4 separate regions of the Homo sapiens genome follow, and regions 1, 2 and 3 are each linked to region 4. Evidence: promoter capture Hi-C in 16 types of primary human blood cells and fetal thymus (Javierre and others, 2016). All regions are on one chromosome and are shown on one strand. The core of a region is centred on a gene start or on the middle of the fragment in contact, and the rest is flanking DNA. Distances in the headings are between cores, read along the strand shown.

Region 1 (2,700 bases), core at 39-2,538, 260 kb before region 4:
ACTAGAATGAAATTTAAGGAATTTTGAACCTTATGTGGTCCTGATCTCTGTGCTTGGGTTTTAATTTTTTTCTCAACCTGTATCATATGCACTTAGCCATGAACAATAAAATATGAACAAATCACATTTTCTTGTTGCTAAGCTACAAAGAATATGATGGTAAAGTGAAATCTCTTCAGCAAGAAAACCAGACTTTCCCCTTGTTTTGTTATTGATCAGGGGAACTGACTATGGTGCAGGACTGCTTGGGTTTCGCAGTCAAGGCAGCTTTTTATATGTGATGAAGCTACTCCGAGTTTTTCTAATTCTTTACTTTGGAACAAGACTTTCTCTTCTGATTTTCCTGAAAAAAGATTCAAATGTCTTGATACTATAAACATGCTAGAGGCAAACAAGCATCCTAAGCTGTACTTTCCATTTGCTAAAACGGGATAATTGTCACATAGGTGTTAAGTAATAGCAGCCACCCATTACCCAAATGTTCCTGAAGTTTCTCTATCCTCCTGGAGTCCATAGGTTTCAATATCTCTGTAAATAGCACTGACATCTAATTGGTGATGATCTTGCTTTCTCTGAGTGTGCCAGCTCTCTCTACATAGTTCCATTCCTTGTTTTCCAGACAGAATTTTGCTACAAGGTGGGGCATGTTGTCCAGTGTACTCACATCCATAATCTGTTCACACAATGCATGGTCAATCTCACCTCCCAGATCCTTTTTGTCCATTTTTACTTTAATGTACAAAATATAATGATGGTGATGACAATGATGGTATTGTTGACCTATATGATAATGACAAACCAAGCTATGCTCTTTTTATGTTTTCAAATGTAAGCACATCAGTAAGTGATGTACATAAATGATACGATTTAAACATCCAACACAAGGACGCACACATTTTTTATGATCATGTTGCAAATGAGAAAACAAATGACCCATCCCTTTCTTCTCCTTTAATCATGGCAACATCAGTAGCTCCTAAGAGTTTTATTTGAGGAAGTTCTGCCTGTGTTATCTGGCTGATATTGAAGACTTGGGATTTTGTCACCCAAGTCCCATAAACAGTGGGTTACAGTTCAGGTAAGATGGAATGAAGCATGGTTTTTAGAGTGTACACTGATAGGAGCTCACTTTTATAAAATTTTCACATTCACCAAAATATATTTTCTAATAAAAATAATATATTAACACAAAAGTAGCTATGCAGCTGTGCCTTTTATTTCTTTTTCTTACCTGATTGGTCTGGCTAGGACTTTCAGTACTACATTGAATAAAAATGGTAAACATAAGCATCCTTATCTTGTGTCAGATCTTAGAGAGAAAACATCCAGCTTTTCCCATTCAGTATGATGGTTCTGTTATATATGGCCTTTATTATATTGAGGTATATTTCTTCTATACCCAATCTGTTGACAGTTTTTATCTAATGAGATGAGCGTATGGTTTTTGTCCTTCGTTCCATTAATCTGATGTATCACCTTTATTGATTTGCATATGTTGAACCATCTTTATATTTCTGGGATGAATTCTACTTGATCTTGGTGAATAATCTTCACGATGTGCAATGGGATTTAGTTGGCTAGTATTTTGTGAGGATTTTTGCATCTATATTCTTCAGGGAAATAGTCCTGTAATTTTGTTGTTGTTGTTATGTCCTTGTCTGATTTGATATCTTTTCAAAAAGCCTGTCTTTGAGCTCATTGATTCTTTTTTCTGTTTGATTGATTGATTCTGCTGGTATTTTTTATTTGGTTCATTACATTTTTCAACTGTGGTCACTGCTGCTTTTTTAGCATTAGAGGGCGCTCTAAGCCTGGATTTGCCACATATCCAAAGTTGCTTTGTCGTTCTGGCCTGGAAGGACTAGAGCGGGGCTTACAGAGTGTATTTCATCCCACTGGGTTTGCACGTTTCTGCCTGGGGCCGGAACAGCTCCAGGGGTTCTGTTTACGGTCCCCAGGTTGGGGTCAAGCACTGCAGGGCTGTGCCCAGGGCTGGATCTCTGTAGTGAGCTCAGCACTGGGCTGCAAGGCCACATGTGCCTGCTTTCCTTTGCTTCCCTGAAGCAGTCTCCATGCTGTGCTGCTTGTAGTGGGGCATGGATGAGACAGGGAGTCCTGTGGCCACCACAGCTGCTATGATGCTACATCATGCCCAAAGCCACTGAGGCCAGCGCAGCGCAGGGGGATCCTCAAGTTCCACGGCTACAGCTTTCCGGCCCCTGAGATTTATTCATGGCTCTAGGCTGCTGCAGAGAGTCAGTGGTGATGTGGGCTGGGACATGAGACTGTGCCACCAGGGCTGCTGGTCTCCACCTGGCACTGTGACAAGTCCAGTGGCTCTGTCCACAGGGACCAGCCTGGGTCAGGGGCCACTGAGTCTTCCCCAGTGTTGGGTTTCACGATGGTATGCCAGCACTGCATTGCCAGGCAAAGCCCTGTGCTTAGTTTCTTTCCTTTCCTTCCCTCCAGTGGGTGGAGTCACTCTTTGCACTGTGCTGCCCAGGGTTTAGAGAGGGATGGTGAGGGCAGTCCCTTGGCCACCAAGACTCATGCTTAGCTGGATCGGGCCAAAGCCAATGGAAACTGGGGCCAGCACAACCCTGGAGTGTGTCCCAGGCCCATGCTGATACGCCCTGACTACTGCTGAGGTTTGCTCGTGGCCTGATGCCACTATCGAAGGCCAGAGGTGGTGCAGGTCAG
Region 2 (2,810 bases), core at 68-2,567, 270 kb after region 4:
TTAGAAACTGACAACAGTGCAATCAATAGGCAGTTTCCCAGAGCGCCCTACTCCAACACCTTTTAAAGTGCCAATCAAAGTTTGCAAAACCATTCATTATATTTCAATATGTGGAATTTTTTTGTACCTTGAAAAAATGATTAGATTTTGTTCCTGTTTAACAACTTACTTCTAATTCAAATTCAAAGTGAAAATAATGAGATTGGGCATCAAGAATTTGGACATACTGGTGTCTGGTATCGAGGTTCTTCAGCTACTCAATGCACGTGATGATGGTGATGATCATGATGGTAACAACAGACAATAACACATATATTACAATGCCACATACTAAGTGTTTTACAATTCTTAGCTCACTTCTTAACAATTTCTCGTCTCCCTATAAAAAGCTTTGTCTAGGCCGGCTGTGGTGGCTCACGCCTGTAATCACAGTACTTTGGGAGGCCAAGGTAGGCAGATCATGAGGTCAGGAGATCGAGACCATTCTGGCTAACACGGTGAAACCCCATCTCTACTAAAAATATAAAAAATTAGCCGGGTGTGGTAGCGCATGCCTGTAGTCCCAGCTACTTGGGAGGCTGAGGCAGGAGAATGGCGTGAACCTGGGAGGCGGAGCTTGCAGTGAGCCAAGACCGCATCACTGCGCCCCAGCTTGGGCGAAAGAGCGAGACTCAATCTCAAAAAAAAAAGGCTTTGTCTAAAGAAACCATCCTTAGGCACTAGTGTTTGAGAAGGTCAAGTTTAGGTTAGGATCATGTTCAAAGTGAAGACAAAGTCTAGTTTTTTGCTTATTTTCTTTTGAGACAGGATCTCACTCTGTCACCCAGGCTGGAGCACAGTGTTGTGATCATAGCTCACTGTAAGCTTGAACTCCTGGGCTCAAGTGATCCTCCTGGCTCAGCCTCCTGGGCAGCTAGGACTATGGGCATGTGCCATGATGCCTGACTAATTTTTTTTTTTTAATTTTGTAAAGATAGGGTTTGCGGTGTTGGCTAGGCTGGTCTCAAACTCCTGGGCTCAAGTGATCCTCCTGCCTTGGCATCCCAAAGTGTTGGGATTACAGGTGTGTGCCACTGAGCCTGGCCGTGCTTATTATCTCCTTAAGCCAGATGAAAGTGCTGTAACGTCCAAGCTTGGTTTTCATCACCATGCATTGCTAATATCTATTAATCACCCTTTATAAAGCATTAATCACCCTTTAAAGGGTGGTTCTCTTTAGACGGGGGAAAAGAGCAACTTGACAGTGAGGAAACCTAATACACCTCAGTCAGGTGATCAAGGTCACCATCAGCAGTTATAAATCACGTTTAAACTACATACCCTTGATATGATGCACAAGGACAAGGACAACCAGTGACAACCACTCCCCATCATGGCCTTTTCCAAACATATTCCCGTGTATCCCATTAGCAAGTCTTTGTTTACCCATGGACACTCCCTTTCCCTCAAATACATCATCCTCAAAAGACCAGGCTTAAGTACTCCCTGTTCTGTGAAGCTTTCCTTGTTCTCTAAGGCAGAAGTTATTTCTCTCTCCTTGGTCTATGTGGTTATTTGATCTGGGCTCATGATTTTTCTTTATAAAAGCCTCTCTGGATTCGGGCATAGCCAAGCACCAAGCCTCACTCTCCCTGTGCACCCACCTTAAACCTCACCCATGAATTTCACACAATTAAAGAGACTTAGATATACTGCAGGTAATCATGTGTCTTCACTGGATGGTAAGGCTCTTGAAAGCAGAGTTTATAGCAATCCAATTTCTGTCAACTCAGAAGTACTTGTTCCAGCAAGGCCCTAGGGCCTCCTGATAACATGTAGAAATGACAATGACCAGTCACAAGAAGGTAAGCTCTGTTCACCAAAAAAAGTTCCCCACTCTCCTAGAAACAACAATGCAATAGACTCAGAAATTCCAAGTACTTAATACATAGCTTAACTGAAATCAAGTTTCCAGACACGATGAACTCTAGAAAATAACATACACTGAAGCTGTAGAAGATGAGTTTTATTTATCCAATTTATGAGTTCACAAATCATAAATCTCAGTGACTCCGAGTAGTTTGGGCAGGAATGCATTCCAAAACTACCATCTGGGTCATGCTAGATGGAGAATAAATCTAATGCTTACCACAGATTCACATTCTCTCTATAATAAGCTGCAAGGAAGACACCAATGAAGCTATTAAAAATAAGGTAAGAATAATTCACACAAACTGCTTTCCCGCCTTCTTAGAAAATAATACAACTCCCAAACAAGCTCTAAGTAATAATCCAAGAAGTCCCAATTATTCCTCATCTATACCTTAATTATTATATACTTTATAAACTTCTTTCCATCTGCAGTTCTGTGTCTTTGACTAATTACAGTGAGTTTCTCTGAGACACACCTGGCTTTACTTAATGAGATAGACCATGTAATTTTTCAACTCAAAAACCAACTGATCACATTGCTTTGCACCCTAGGGTAGCAACTGCTATATGCCTTATAGGGCTAAATAACAAATAATAGACACTTATAGTTTGCATTTTCTAGCCCATTTTACAATGAAAACAGTGATCTGAAAATCAACAATTTATCTAATATTGAATTCCATAGGTAAGAGAACATAAGCTCTTTAATCAAAAGTAAACCAGCTGAATCATTTCTACAAAGAGAAAAAGAAGAGTAAGAGATGAGGGGAAGGAGGGAGAAGGTAGGCTGTGACTCATTTTACTTCTGTGTTATTTGCAATCAGACTTAAAATGTATCCCCAACTACTGCAGAAAGATAGTGCTGAGGTTAAATGGTTCCACTGAATGACATTCTTTCC
Region 3 (2,787 bases), core at 42-2,541, 290 kb before region 4:
TCTTCATTTCTTTTTCACATTGTTCACTGTTGGTATATAAAAATGCTGCTAGCTTTTTAATCCTATATCTTGACTAAATTTATGAGTTCTAATAGTGTTTTAGTGAATTAGGATTTTCCAAATATAAGAGCACATCATCTGCAAGCAAAGCTAATTTGACTTCTTCCTTTCCAATTTGGTTGCCCTTTATTTTTTTCTCTTGTCTAATTGCTCTAGCTGCCATATGTTGAAATAACAGTGGTGAAAGTGTGCATCCTTGTCATGTTCTCAATCTTAGGAAAAGCTTTTCATTTTTCCCCATTTAGTATCATATAATGTGAGTGTCATATATAGCTTTTTATATGTTGAGGTATGTTTCTTCTATAGTTTTGAGGGTTTCTGTCATGAGGGGATATTAAATTTTATCAAATGATTTTCAGGATCAAAATGATCTTGGTTTTTGTTCTTTCTTTTGTTGATATGATGTATTACATTAATTGATTTGCATATGTTGAAGTATCTTTGCATCCCTGAGATAAATCCTACTTGATCATGAGGTATAATAATCTTTTTAATCTGTTGCTGAATTTTACTTGCCAGTATTTTTATTAGAAATTTTACATCTATAATAATCTTTTTAATATGTTGCTGAATTTTACTTGCCAGTATTTTTATTAGAAATTTTGCATCTATTGCTGATATTGGCCTATAGATTTTTTTGATAGGCGTTTGTCTGGTTTTAGTATGAGAGTAATGCTTGCCTTACAGAACAAGGTTGGAAGTGTTTCCTCCTCCTCTGTTTTGGAATAGTTTAAGTCAGATTGCTATTAGTTTTATACATGTTTGGTCGAATTCAGTGAAGCCATCAGATTTCAGGCTTTTCTCTCATAGGAGGTTTTTTATTATGGATCTCAACATGTCTTGTTTGTCTATTCAGGTTCTGGATTTCTTAACAGTTCAATCTTGTTAGGTTCTATGTGTCTAGAAATTTATCCATTTGTTCTAGATTTTCCAATTTATGGCATCTATCTGCTCATAGCAGCCACTAATGATCTTGAATTCCTGCAGTATAAGTTGTAGAGTTGAAATGTCTCCTTTTTCATCTTTGTTATTATTTATTTGAGTCTTTTTTTCTTTTTTCTTTTCTTTCTTTCTTTTTTTTTTTTTTTCTTTTTTTTGAGTAGGAGTCTCACTCTGTCGCCCAGGCTGGGGTGCAGTGGCTTGATCTTGGCTCACTGCAACCTCCTTCTCCTGACTTCCAGCAATTCTACCTGCCTCAGCCTCCCAAGTAGGTGGGATTACAGGTGCCTGCCACCGTGCCCAGCTAATTTTTATATTTTTTAGTAGAGACGGGGTTTCGCCATGTTGGACAGGCTGGTCTTAAACTCCTGACTTCAGGTGATCCCCCTGCCTTAGCCTCCTAAAGTGCCGGGATTACAGGCATGAGCCACTGTGCCTGGCTGAGTTTTCTTTTTTTTTCTTAGTCTGGCTAAAGGTTTTTTTTTTTTTTTTTTTAGAAAACAACTTTGCATTTTATTGACCTTTTGTATTTTATTTATTTCAAATTCATTTATTTCTGCTTTGATCTTTATTATTTCTTTTCTTCTAATTTTGGCTTTGTTTGCTAGATACATCATTAGGTTTTTTCAATGGTTTTGGAAATACAGGTGGTTTTTCGTGACACAGATAAGTTCTTTAGTGTAATTTCTGAGATTTTAGTGCACCTGTCACCCGAGCAGTGTACACTGTACTTAATATGTAGCTTTTATCCCTCACCCGCCTCCCAGCCTTCCCCCTCAAGTCCCCAAAGTCTATTACATTACTCTTATGCCTTTGCATCCTCGTAGATTAGCTCTCACTTATAAGAATATACAATATCTAGTTTTCCATTTCTGAGTTACTTCACTTAGAATAATAGCCTTCAGCTCCATCCAAGTTGCTGCAAATGACATTTTATTTGTTAAGTGTTCCCATTTCACCACAACCATGCCAACATCTGTTGTTTTCTTGACTTTTGAATTATGGCTATTTTTGTAGGAGTAAGTTGGTATCTAATTGTGGTTTTCATTTGTATTTCTCTGATTAGTGATGTTGAGCATTTTTAGATTATTGTTCGGTGTTCGTATGTCTTCTTTTGACAAATATATATTCATTTTCTCTGCCTACTTTTTGATGGAATTATTATTATTTGGCTAATTTATTTGAGTTCTGTATAGATTCTGGATACTAGCTTTTTGTGCGTAGTTTGCAAATATTTTCTGCTACTCTGTGGGTTGTCTATGTACTCTGCTGATTATTTCTTTTGCTGTGCAGAAGCTTTTTAGTTTAATAAGGTCCCATTTGTTTATGTTTGTTTTTGTTGCATTTGCTTTTGGGGTCTTAGTCATGAATTTTTTGCCTAAGTCAATGTCCAGAAGAGTTTTTTTATATGTTACCTTTTAGAATTTGTATGCTTTCAGGCCTTAGATTTAAATCTTTGATCCATCTTGAATTGATTTTTGTATACGGTCAGAGATGGGGGATCCAGTTTTATTCTTCTATGTGTGGCTTGCCAGTTTTCCTAGCACCGTTTATTGAATAGGGTGTTGTTTCCTCAATTTGTTTATTTGTATGCCTTGTTGATTATTAGTTAAGATGAGTTGCCTGTATTTGGCTTAATTTCTGGATTCTCTATTATGCTTCATTGGTCTATGTGTCTATTTTAATAGCAATACCATGCTGTTTTGGTAGCTATAGCTTTGTAGTATAATTTGAAGTAGGGTAATGTGATGCCTCCAGATTTTTTATTTATTTTGTTTTGGTTAGTAT
Region 4 (2,700 bases), core at 53-2,552:
CAGCTGGCTTGCACATTCTGACCTGCGTTCCTGAGACCTGGAAGAGTGCCCCTGGACACGCAGATTAGAATCTTCACCAGCCTCTTCTGCTCTCCTTGCTTTCAGCTCCCAGCCTTTCACATGCATCTTACTAGAGAGACACTCACCTCCAAGTGCCCAGGACAGTTTCACTTTTTATGGCTTCTCTCCTGGGCTCAAGTTCACTATCATAAGTGTCCCCAACTCATAACCTACAAAATCCCAGCCAGTCTCCCAATGTTCACATTCCTAAGGCTACTGCACGACATTCTCCTCAAGGGAGCTCCGATTTAAGACTGCCCAGACCCGTATTCCCTTAAGACAGACAGACAGGTGCATCCCTAACACTTGTCCTGACACTTCTTAGACCCATCAGGATTCAGCCTCCACAGCTGTAAGTAAGGCTATAACCAGAATGGTCTGTTACCCTGAGCAAAGTCACATGTTAAAAGCTACTGTCTTAAGTTTGTAAGTGTAGGCTGCACATACGTGTTAAAATTGAGGAAAACAGTGCTGCTTTTCCCTCAATACCTATTTTTCCCTCGCTTCTGCATTATGTGGAATTCCATGAGGTCTGCTTGATAGTTTATTAGGTCCGCGTGAGCACAGTATTTAAAAAAAAAAACAGCAATTTAAATGTACCACACTCCTTTGTTGCAAAATTTCTCTCTTATGATTCATTTTCAAAAATCCCTTTGCCCTCCAAACTCAGATCACATCTGGAGAGAATTTCTGTCATCACTGTCATCATTAATATTTGTAATCACTTTGGGAGGGAGGGAGGGGGTGAGGGACAACAAATTACTTAATAGGTACAATGTACACTATAGGGGTGATGGCTACACTAAAAGCCCAGTCTCCACCACTATGCAATACATCCATATAACAAAACAGCACCTGTACCCCCTAAATCTATAAAAATAAAAAAGGAAAAAATTGGTAATCTAAGCATTTATTGAACTACAATCATTTGTTACAGCTGAGTTCCAGCTCAGATATATCGGTAAATTATGCAATTATACTAAACATCATATCGAGCTGTGTTAAAAACTCACGGGGCAAGCTAGCTGCCGCCCCGCTCACTTCCACATGCAGCGGAAGCGCGATTTTGCATTTATTCTCAGGATCTCAAGGAGATAGAAAGTTGTGGCTATTTACCGGTGCTCCTCCTCGCGGGCCGCGGCGCTCAGCCCGGGCCCCCGGCGTCCCCGGGATCCGACGGCCGTGCGGCGCTCAGAGCCAGCCCCGGACGGGCCTCTCCCCCAGCTAGGCGGCTGCGGCTCTGCGGGGCTTTAAGCCTCCTGCCTGCCCGCGCCGGGCCCGCCTCCGCACCGCCGGCTGTCGCTCCGGGCGGCCTCCGCTGCCACCTAGTGGCCCAGCACGGCACAGCGGCCAGAGAACCGCGTCAGCCCCGAGCGAAAATCCCCCCGAACACACTCTTGAATGGTTGGATGGTTGCTTGGTTGGTTGGTTGGTCGGTCGGGTCGGTGGGTCGGTCGGTCGGTCGGTCGGTCGGTTGAATGGTTGGTTGGGTGAGTGGTTGCTTGGTTGGGTAGTTGGTTGGTTGAGTGGGTGGGTGGGTGGTTGCTTGTTTGGTGATTGGTTGGTTGGGTGAGCAGGTGGTTGCTTGCTTGGTTGGTTGGGTGGTTACGGGTTAGTTAGTTGGGTAGGTGGGTGGTTGCCTGATTGGTTGATTGGTTGATTGGTTAGGTGAGTGGATGGTTACTTGGTTGCTTGGCTGGTTGGGTGGGGGGTTCGTTGATTGGGTAGGTGGGTGGTTCCTTGGTTGGTTGATTGGTTGGTTGGGTAGGTGGGTGGTTGCTTGGTTGGTTGATTGGTTGGTTGGGTAGGTGGGTGGTTGCTTGGTTGAGTGAGTAGATGGTTACTTGGTTGCTTGCTCGCTTGCTCGCTTGCTTGGGTGGGTGGGGGGTAGTTGGTTGGGTAGGTGGGTGGTTGCTTGGTTCGTTGATTGGTTGCTTGGGTGGGTGGGTGGTTGGTTGGGTGAGTGGATGGTTGCTTGGTTGGTTGATTGGGTAAGTGGGGGTTGGTTGGGTAGGTGGGTGGTTGCTTGGTTGGTTGGTTGGGTCAGTGGGTGGGTGGGTGGTGGGTGGTTGCTTGGTTGGTTGGTTGGGTCAGTGGGTGGGTGGGTGGGTCGTTGGGTGGGTGGTTGCTTGGTTGGTTGGTTGGGTCAGTGGGTGGGTGGATGGGTGGTTGGGAGGGTGGTTGGTTGGTTGGTTGGTTGGCTGGGTCAGTGGGTGGATGGATGGGTGGTTGGGTGAGTGGTTGCTAGGTTGGTTGGGTCAGTGGGTGGGTGGATGGGTGGTTGGGTGGGTGGTTGCTTGGTTTGGTTGGTTGGGTCAGTGGGTTGGGTGGATGGGTGGTTGTGTGGGTGGTTGGTTGGTTGGTTGGTTGGGTCGGTGGGTGGATGGATAGGTGGTTGGGTGGGGGAGTGGTTGGTTGGGTCAGTGGGTGGGTGGATGGGTGGTTGGGTGGGTAGCTGCTTGGTTGTTTTTCTGGCTGGTTGCACTTTTTGTTTCTTTTCTCTTCCTCTTGAGCACTGATTAAAATGCTCCCGAGCTCAAAGAGGGCTTGTCACCCCGTTTCTCCTGGACAGTGGTCTCTGGGATGTCCTGATGATTGTTCTTTGGGAAGGAGGCCCAGTGCCTGGGAGCCCTCATCTGT

Evidence for each region. The method cuts DNA at HindIII sites, captures the fragments that hold promoters and counts their contacts. A CHiCAGO score of 5 or more calls a contact.
Region 1: a contact is called between a fragment that was not itself captured here and the fragment with the promoter of MC5R in region 4, in 6 of 17 cell types (erythroblasts, M0 macrophages, M2 macrophages and 3 more). The highest score is 14.9, in erythroblasts.
Region 2: a fragment that was not itself captured here is called in contact with the fragment with the promoter of MC5R in region 4 in 3 of 17 cell types (endothelial precursors, erythroblasts and naive B cells); the score reaches 6.4 in endothelial precursors.
Region 3: a contact is called between a fragment that was not itself captured here and the fragment with the promoter of MC5R in region 4, in 2 of 17 cell types (endothelial precursors and erythroblasts). The highest score is 6.1, in endothelial precursors.

The regions. Positions count from the first base shown.
Region 1 is chr18:14,085,878-14,088,577 of GRCh38, reverse strand. It overlaps a transcript of ZNF519 not described here. Among named protein-coding and RNA genes, the nearest start is that of ZNF519, 45 kb to the left of the region's middle. The HindIII fragment of the contact is 9,090 bases long and covers 1-2,700 here.
Region 2 is chr18:13,555,288-13,558,097 of GRCh38, reverse strand. The region is part of intron 4 of LDLRAD4 (low density lipoprotein receptor class A domain containing 4); the gene reads right to left. Among named protein-coding and RNA genes, the nearest start is that of MIR4526, 54 kb to the left of the region's middle. The HindIII fragment of the contact is 366 bases long and covers 1,135-1,500 here.
Region 3 is chr18:14,109,877-14,112,663 of GRCh38, reverse strand. All of the region lies in intron 2 of ZNF519 (zinc finger protein 519), which reads left to right. Among named protein-coding and RNA genes, the nearest start is that of ZNF519, 21 kb to the left of the region's middle. The HindIII fragment of the contact is 2,012 bases long and covers 286-2,297 here.
Region 4 is chr18:13,822,751-13,825,450 of GRCh38, reverse strand. It overlaps MC5R (melanocortin 5 receptor), which reads right to left and starts at 1,302. Exons shown (of 2, transcript NM_005913.3): 1 at 1,177-1,302. RefSeq lists silencers at 1,098-1,187, 1,198-1,487, 1,453-1,633. The HindIII fragment of the contact is 16,860 bases long and covers 1-2,700 here.